2 separate regions of the Homo sapiens genome follow, and region 1 is linked to region 2. Evidence: promoter capture Hi-C in human tissues and cell types (Jung and others, 2019). All regions are on one chromosome and are shown on one strand. Each heading gives the region's core, a stretch centred on a gene start or on the middle of the fragment in contact. The rest is flanking DNA. Distances are from core to core; before and after follow the strand shown.

What was found. The method cuts DNA at HindIII sites, captures the fragments that hold promoters and counts their contacts. A contact is called where the count stands out against the background at its distance.
Region 1: a contact is called between a fragment that was not itself captured here and the fragment with the promoter of SMARCD1 in region 2, in 1 of the 25 tissues and cell types used here (aorta).

What each region holds. Positions count from the first base shown.
Region 1 is chr12:50,351,297-50,355,710 of GRCh38, reverse strand. FAM186A (family with sequence similarity 186 member A) reads left to right here. Exons shown (of 8, transcript NM_001145475.3): 4 at 1-4,414. Among named protein-coding and RNA genes, the nearest start is that of FAM186A, 43 kb to the left of the region's middle. The HindIII fragment of the contact is 3,491 bases long and covers 1,393-4,414 here.
Region 2 is chr12:50,083,338-50,087,734 of GRCh38, reverse strand. It overlaps SMARCD1 (SWI/SNF related BAF chromatin remodeling complex subunit D1), which reads right to left and starts at 2,393. Exons shown (of 13, transcript NM_003076.5): 1 at 2,189-2,393; 2 at 1,387-1,574; 3 at 1,072-1,114; 4 at 857-979; 5 at 250-372. The coding sequence starts at 2,365. It overlaps ASIC1 (acid sensing ion channel subunit 1), which reads right to left. Exons shown (of 12, transcript NM_001095.4): 12 at 4,124-4,397. RefSeq lists enhancers at 970-1,701, 2,551-2,810, 3,168-3,900 and a silencer at 2,041-2,480. The HindIII fragment of the contact is 20,407 bases long and covers 1-4,397 here.

The DNA of each region.
Region 1 (4,414 bases), core at 1,889-4,388, 270 kb before region 2:
GGACAATATTTTAGACAAGGAACTTGAAAATATTGTAGATGAAGTCCAAAGAAAAGAGACCAAGGACTCTGGGATAAAATGGGACTCCACTATTTCATATACAGCCCAAGCTGAAAGAACTCCAGATTTAACTGAACTACGACAGCAACCTGTTGCTTCTGAAGATATTTCCGAAGACAGCACTAAAGATAACGTATCATTGAAGAAAGGTGATTTCTATCAGGAAGATGAGACTGATGAGTATCAATCATGGAAAAGAAGCCACAAAAAAGCCACATATGTATATGAGACCTCTGGACCAAATCTGAGTGATAATAAAAGTGGACAGAAAGTCTCAGAGGCCAAACCTAGTCAATACTATGAGCTACAAGTACTGAAAAAGAAAAGAAAAGAAATGAAATCCTTTTCTGAAGATAAATCAAAGTCACCCACTGAAGCAAAAAGAAAACATCTCTCTTTAACTGAAACAAAGAGCCAAGGTGGCAAAAGTGGAACAAGTATGATGATGTTGGAGCAATTTAGGAAGGTCAAACGTGAATCTCCATTTGACAAACGTCCAACTGCAGCAGAGATTAAAGTGGAACCCACCACTGAGTCATTGGACAAAGAGGGCAAAGGTGAAATTAGAAGCCTAGTGGAGCCACTCAGTATGATCCAATTTGATGATACTGCTGAGCCACAGAAAGGAAAAATAAAAGGAAAGAAACACCATATCTCTTCAGGAACTATCACAAGCAAAGAAGAAAAAACTGAAGAGAAGGAAGAGTTGACCAAACAAGTCAAGTCTCATCAACTTGTTAAATCACTCTCAAGAGTGGCTAAAGAGACTTCAGAATCTACCAGAGTTCTAGAAAGTCCAGATGGCAAAAGTGAACAGAGTAACCTCGAAGAATTTCAGGAAGCCATAATGGCTTTCCTAAAACAGAAAATTGATAACATAGGAAAGGCTTTTGACAAAAAGACTGTTCCGAAGGAAGAGGAGTTATTAAAAAGAGCAGAAGCTGAAAAATTAGGAATCATAAAGGCAAAAATGGAGGAATATTTCCAAAAAGTGGCTGAAACTGTGACTAAAATCTTGAGAAAATACAAAGATACAAAAAAGGAAGAACAAGTTGGAGAGAAACCTATAAAACAAAAAAAGGTAGTCTCATTTATGCCAGGATTGCATTTTCAGAAGTCACCAATTAGTGCAAAATCTGAAAGCAGTACCCTCCTCTCATATGAGAGCACAGATCCAGTAATTAACAATTTAATACAAATGATCTTGGCTGAAATAGAAAGTGAAAGAGATATTCCAACAGTCTCAACAGTACAGAAAGACCACAAGGAGAAGGAAAAACAAAGGCAGGAGCAATATTTGCAAGAGGGTCAAGAACAAATGTCTGGCATGAGTCTCAAACAGCAGTTGCTGGGAGAAAGAAATCTCTTGAAGGAGCACTATGAGAAGATAAGTGAGAATTGGGAAGAAAAAAAGGCATGGCTCCAGATGAAGGAGGGAAAGCAAGAACAACAGAGCCAGAAACAGTGGCAGGAAGAAGAGATGTGGAAGGAAGAGCAAAAACAGGCAACTCCAAAGCAGGCTGAGCAAGAGGAAAAGCAAAAGCAAAGAGGACAGGAGGAAGAAGAGCTTCCAAAGTCAAGCCTGCAGCGGCTGGAAGAAGGGACCCAAAAAATGAAAACACAAGGGTTGCTCTTGGAAAAGGAGAATGGACAGATGAGGCAGATTCAGAAGGAAGCGAAACATTTGGGGCCACACAGGAGAAGGGAGAAAGGGAAGGAAAAGCAGAAGCCAGAGAGAGGGCTAGAGGACCTCGAAAGGCAGATCAAAACAAAGGATCAGATGCAGATGAAGGAAACACAACCTAAAGAGCTAGAAAAAATGGTCATCCAAACTCCAATGACATTATCTCCCAGGTGGAAGAGTGTATTGAAAGATGTACAGCGGTCATATGAAGGAAAAGAGTTTCAGAGGAATCTGAAGACATTAGAGAACCTTCCTGATGAAAAGGAGCCCATATCAATCACACCTCCCCCCTCCCTACAATACTCCCTGCCTGGAGCTCTTCCTATTTCTGGCCAGCCTCTCACTAAATGCATTCATCTCACACCTCAGCAGGCCCAGGAAGTGGGGATCACACTCACTCCTCAGCAGGCCCAGGCTCAGGGGATCACGCTCACCCTTCAGCAGGCCCAGGAACTAGGGATCCCTCTCACCCCTCAGCAGGCCCAGGCCCTGGAGATCCTTTTCACCCCTCAGCAGGCGCAGGCCCTGGGGATCCCTCTCACCCCTCAGCAGACCCAGGTTCAAGGGATCACTCTCACCCCTCAGCAGGACCAGGCCCCGGGGATCTCTCTCACCACTCAGCAGGCTCAGAAACTAGGGATCCCTCTTACCCCTCAGCAGGCCCAGGCCCTGGGGATCCCTCTCACCCCTCAGCAGGCTCAGGAATTGGGGATCCCTCTCACCCCTCAGCAGGCCCAGGCCCTGAGGGTCTCTCTCACCCCTCAGCAGGCTCAGGAATTGGGGATCCCTCTCACCCCTCAGCAGGCCCAGGCCCTGGGGATCACTCTAACCCTTCAGCAGGCCCAGCAATTGGGGATCCCTCTCACCCCTCAGCAGGCGCAGGCTCTCGGAATCACTCTCACCCCTAAGCAGGTTCAGGAACTGGGGATCCCTCTTACTCCTCAGCAGGCCCAGGCCCTGGGGATCACTCTCACCCCTAAGCAGGCTCAGGAATTGGGGATCCCTCTCAACCCTCAGCAGGCCCAGACCCTGGGGATCCCTCTCACCCCTAAGCAGGCACAGGCTCTGGGGATCCCTTTCACCCCTCAGCAGGCGCAGGCCCTGGGGATCCCTCTCACCCCTCAGCAGGCGCAGACTCAGGAGATCACTCTCACCCCTCAGCAGGCCCAGGCCTTGGGGATGCCTCTCACCACTCAGCAGGCTCAGGAACTGGGGATCCCTCTCACCCCTCAGCACGCTCAGGCCTTGGGGATGCCTCTCACCACTCAGCAGGCTCAGGAACTGGGGATCCCTCTCACCCCTCAGCAGGCTCAGGCCTTGGGGATGCCTCTCACCACTCAGCAGGCTCAGGAACTGGGGATCCCTCTCACCCCTCAGCAGGCTCAGGAATTGGGGATCCCTTTCACCCCTCAGCAGGCACAGGCTCAGGAGATCACTCTCACCCCTCAGCAGGCCCAGGCCCTGGGGATGCCTCTCACCGCTCAGCAGGCTCAGGAGCTGGGGATCACTCTCACCCCTCAGCAGGCTCAGGAATTGGGGATCCCTCTCACCCCTCAGCAGGCCCAGGCCCTGGGGATCCCTCTCATCCCTCCGCAGGCTCAGGAATTGGGGATCCCTCTCACCCCTCAGCAGGCCCAGGCCCTGGGGATCCTTCTCATCCCTCCGCAGGCTCAGGAATTGGGGATCCCTCTCACCCCTCAGCAGGCCCAGGCCCTGGGGATCCCTCTGATCCCTCCGCAGGCTCAGGAATTGGGGATCCCTCTCACCCCTCAGCAGGTCCAGGCCCTGGGGATCCCTCTCATCCCTCCGCAGGCTCAGGAATTGGAGATCCCTCTCACCCCTCAGCAGGCCCAGGCCCTGGGGATCCCTCTCACCCCTCAGCAGGCGCAGGAACTGGGGATCCCTCTCACCCCTCAGCAGGCGCAGGAACTGGGGATCCCTCTCACCCCTCAGCAGGCGCAGGCTCAGGGGATCCCTCTCACCCCTCAGCAGGCCCAGGCTCTGGGGATCTCTCTCACCCCTCAGCAGGCGCAGGCTCAGGGGATCACTCTCACCCCTCAGCAGGCCCAGGCACTGGGAGTCCCCATCACCCCAGTAAATGCCTGGGTGTCAGCTGTCACTCTTACCTCTGAGCAAACCCACGCTTTGGAGTCCCCTATGAACTTAGAACAGGCTCAAGAACAGTTATTGAAGTTAGGGGTTCCTCTCACCTTAGATAAAGCCCATACCTTGGGATCGCCCCTCACCCTTAAGCAAGTCCAGTGGTCCCATAGACCATTTCAGAAATCGAAGGCTTCTCTCCCCACTGGGCAATCCATCATATCAAGATTGTCTCCAAGTCTTAGGCTGTCCCTGGCATCATCAGCTCCTACTGCTGAGAAGTCCTCTATATTCGGGGTCTCTTCTACTCCTTTGCAGATATCAAGGGTTCCCCTCAACCAAGGCCCCTTTGCCCCTGGGAAGCCCCTAGAAATGGGGATTCTTTCTGAGCCTGGGAAGCTTGGGGCACCACAGACTCTTCGTTCCTCTGGACAGACCCTGGTATACGGAGGTCAATCCACTTCTGCGCAGTTCCCGGCACCACAGGCCCCTCCCTCCCCTGGGCAGCTCCCAATATCTCGGGCCCCTCCCACTCCAGGGCAGCCCTTTATAGCTGGAGTTCCACCCACT
Region 2 (4,397 bases), core at 1,144-3,643:
CCAAGAGGAAGGTAAACCACAAATCAGATCCCAGGACAATAAGGTTCTCCATATGATACCAGTGAGGGCCAAAGGTGTGGGGGCAAACACAAAGGACCACTGTCTTTCAGTGCAGGGAACAGTGTCCCTCTCCTTACTGCTCCCAAAAGGAGCTGTGAGCACCAGTTAGGCTTCCTGCTGACCAGACAACACTGTTCATTCCCAGCAGCTCCCACCCTAGATGCCAACCATTGTGGACCTTGAACTCACATCCTCCAGGAGCCGTCCTTCTACCCGAAGCTCCCAGGAAGCCACCGTCCCTTCCCCATCCTCGGCATCTGACTTAGCCGGATTGAAAGTGTTAGAAATGAAAATTCGCAGCTTCCGTTTTTGCTGAGGAAGGCAGAAACAGGATTGATCGTGGGGCTTCAGTGGTCTGATGTTGAAGACAACGGTCTCCCCAAACCCCAAAATTACTCCTAACAGACTGGCTTACTGTCTACCCAGTCCCTTGGGTGGGTGGATGAAGATTCCATTTAGAAGAGGAGTACTGGCCATCAGCCTAAGTACAAGTGCATATAGTGGGATGCCAGGTGGACAAAGTCATGCAAGGTGCCAGGTTCCCAAGGTAGCAGAGCAGTTACAGCGAAAACATGGACAAGGGTATATTTGTAGTGCAAGAGACATCAAGAGCCCCTCCCCCTTTGCCATTCTGTTCTTATCCTCCTAATGTAATTCTCAGTTTGTAGGCGGAAGGGAGAGATGCAATTTAAATGCCAAGGAGAGTTGTGCTGTGCCTTTGATTTCTCATCCTAATTCTGCTGAAGGTTCCTGGGTCCTCTCCTTTGGCTCTCTGCCTAGTACTTTCCTGTGTTACCTTGATGGGACGTTTCAAGGCCTCTTGGATATCTAGCCGTTTCCTCATGATAGTCTGGTCCAGTTTCCTTTCAAAAGCCAAGAGATCCATATAGGCCTGGGATTCTGGTACCAGTTCACGAATCTTAGGAACAGAAAAATTAATTGAAATCTAGGATGATCATCTCTATACTCAAACTCACCACACTTTCCAGAAGACATATAGCCTGGACTCACCCTTTGAGGTAGAATTTTGTCAGCCATCTTCTTTTTCTTTGCACTGTTGGGAATAAATACTATTATCAGGTTGGGACAGAACTAGTCAGAACGTGAAAATAAGCTGTCAGCACGTCCATTTATAGTAATGTGAAGGGACTGCAAAGCTTCTCTCAAAGAACTACCACCACCACCACCACCACCAAGCATTCTCAAGGATGAGTTCTGTAGCACCATCTGCTGACACAGCACCACCACTTCTTGGTTCAGGTACTCCCACCACCTGTGTCCTCCCAGGCTCCCTCCCTCCCTCCCTCTGCCCCAGGATCATCTTACTTGTGGTTTCGATTTTGGACCGCCTGCTGCTGGACCTGCTGGATCTGCTGAGGGGCAGGTCTCTTGCGGGACTGATCCATCCCTGACTGGGCCAGGCCAGGTCGGACTGAAGGGTTCCCCCCATAGCCAGGGGGTCCCATGGAAGGTCCCTGAGGTGTCATTCGGCTGCCTGGCAACATACCTGGTCTCTACAGAGGGGAGAGGACCCAGAGATGTCATGGTTTCACCTGCTAAACCCCATCAAGAAAGAAAAGCAGGGAACGCCTGAGATCTTTGAATGAAGTAAGGTTTAGGGATGGAATGGAGGACAATGAGAGGAGAACCCTTTGCTCCAGTAGTGACTCCATAGAAAAACAGAGTCCAAAAGCTAAGCGAGAGCCAGATTATACTCAAATTCTCAGTCTATTTTGGATGGGACACATCGGACATCGCCAGTTCCACATTTACTCTGCTAGCTACTATCTCTTTAGAAGCTGACCTCAATTTGTCAGCTACACGTTCTGTGTTCCTCTGATCACTGGAGCTGCTCAAGCCCCTTTGCACTCCGGCCCTCATACAGGTATCCCTGGACCCACTTCACCCACCCAGGTTCTCTACCGACTCCCCAGGGAAACAATGCCCCTAGGAGCAGGTGTGTAACTGCCTCCCCCTCTCTTTCTGCGCACTGCCTCCCCCAACCCCCACCCAGAGCCCGAACCCCTCCCAAGGGAGTCCCTCCTACTTCTCCCCCCACCCCTGTCACTCCCATGTCCCCGCTCGGCCCCGCCCCCGGCCCGCGCGCCCCTCCTCCTGCCCCACTCACCGGATAGGCCGCTCCGGGCATCGGGGAGCGGTACAGCCCTTGACCCGGAGCCGGGCCCATTCGCACAGGAGGCCCCGGAGTTCCGCCCGGGCCCAAGGCAGCAGCCGCGCCCGCCCCTCCTGAGGCTCCGGCGCCGCCGCTTGGAGCCACAGACTGGAAACCCGCCCGGGCCGCCATCTTCCCGGAGCCGCCGATGCAGCCGCACAAAGAACCGGAACCGGAACTCCCCCCGCCCCCCGAGCGCCCCCCGAGCGCCCGCCTGTTCCCCCGGCCGGCCGGCCGGCACGGGAGGCTCAGGGCAGCGAGACTATGGGATAGAGCGGGGCGACTAGCGGAAAAGGCGTGCTGGCCACGCCCTCCCGCCTTCACGGTCCGGGAGGGAAAACCATAGAGAAGAGCTCTGCAATAGAGAGGCCGCGTGAGCGGGCGCCCCCAGGCCGACGGGAGGAAGACAAGGACCTGGAAAGGGGGACGGACCACAGCCTCAGCCCCAGTCTCAACCCCAACTCGAGCCCTCTGATGAAGAGGGGCTTGGAGTAATAGCTTCATCTTGGCGCATGGCGTTAACTTTCCAAAACGCTTTGACTGCTTTTCGTTTCGTTTTCTTACTGCTATAACTATCAGGGGCTGAGGAGGGAAACACAGTTTATTCCATTTTACAAATGGGAAAGCTGAACTCACAGGTGAATGACTTGGCAAAGGTCAACCAGCAAGTTAGCCATAAAGCCGAAGCCAAGATTCCAGATACCCTTGCTCATAGCCCGGGACTCATTCCACAGATAAAGTGCCTCAATAAGTACCTCACGTGGGAACTTCATCCTAACTTTCTCTCTGACCTAACCTGCTTCCGGATTATTATTTTTTATTTTTTATTTTTTTTTAGATGAGGTCTGTCTCTCTCTCGCCCAAGCTGGAGTGCAGTGGCACCATCTCAGCTCACTGCAACCTCCGCCTCCCAGGCTCAAGTGATCCTCCCAACTCAGCCTACCAAGTAGCTGGGACCACAGGCATGCACCACCATGCCAGACTGTTTTGTATTTTTGGTAGGGATGGGGTTTCGCCATGTTGCCCAGGTTGGTCTCGAACTCCTGAGCTCAAGCGATCTGTGCTCCTCAGCCTCCCAAAATGCTGGGATTACAGGTGTGAGCCATTGTGCCTGGCCTCAGATTTTTTTTTTTTTAAATATTAAAAAATAGGGATGGGGGGCTGGGCACGGTGGCTCATGCCTGTAATCCCAGCACTTGGGAGGCCCAGGCGGGTGGATCATGAGGTCAGGAGATCGAGACCATCCTGGCTAACACGGTGAAACCCCGTCTCTACTAAAAACACAAAAAAATTAGCCGGGCGTGGTGGCGGGCGCCTGTAGTCCCAGCTACTCGGGAGGCTGAGGCAGGGGAATGGTGTGAACCCGGGAGGCGGAGCTTGCAGTGAGCCGAGATCGCGCCACTGCACTCCAGCCTGGGCGACAGAGCGAGACTCCATCTCAAAAAAGAAAAAAAAAATAGGGATGGGGGTTTCACTATGTTGCATAGGCTGATCTCGAACTCCTGGCCGCAAGTGATCCACCTGTCTCAGCCTCCCAAAGTGTTGGGATTACGGGCATGAGCCACCGTGCCAGCCTGCTTCCAGATTTTATGATAAGTTCCAGTTTATCTTGAATTTTGACTCTGCTCTCTCTCTCTAAAGCATCCTTTGTATTGGGGATTCTGTTTTGGAACTTTGTTGCCTTTGACTTCTCCCTCTTTCCCTGCCCAGTGGTTCAAACTATTCCTGATATAATGGTCAGCCTGTCCCATCCCAGGGGGACCACAGTGTCCCTACTCAAACCTTCTCCTTACTCATCCCCTAATTGGCCCCAAACCAAGCTCAGCTTTAGGCACTTAGTGAGAATATCTAAATACTTTTTCAAATAAGAGAACAACACTGAAGAGGAGATGGTTGAAACCCAGTTTATTAGACCAGAGGCATGCGTCACCCAGAGCCCTGCCTGCTGTTCCCCTATCCAATGCACACTTTTTGGCCTCATTCCTGCTTCCCTCTGGGGAGGTATGATCTCTGAGGAAACTCTTAGGAACCAAGAGATTCCAAAGATCCTACAGCCTTACTCTCCAGCTCCAGGCCAATGCAGCTGCTCACAGGTCCTGTTCTGGGATTGAAGACCAAGACACAGCTAGGGAAGGAAGGCCTGAAGAGGGGTTGGGGCTCAGGC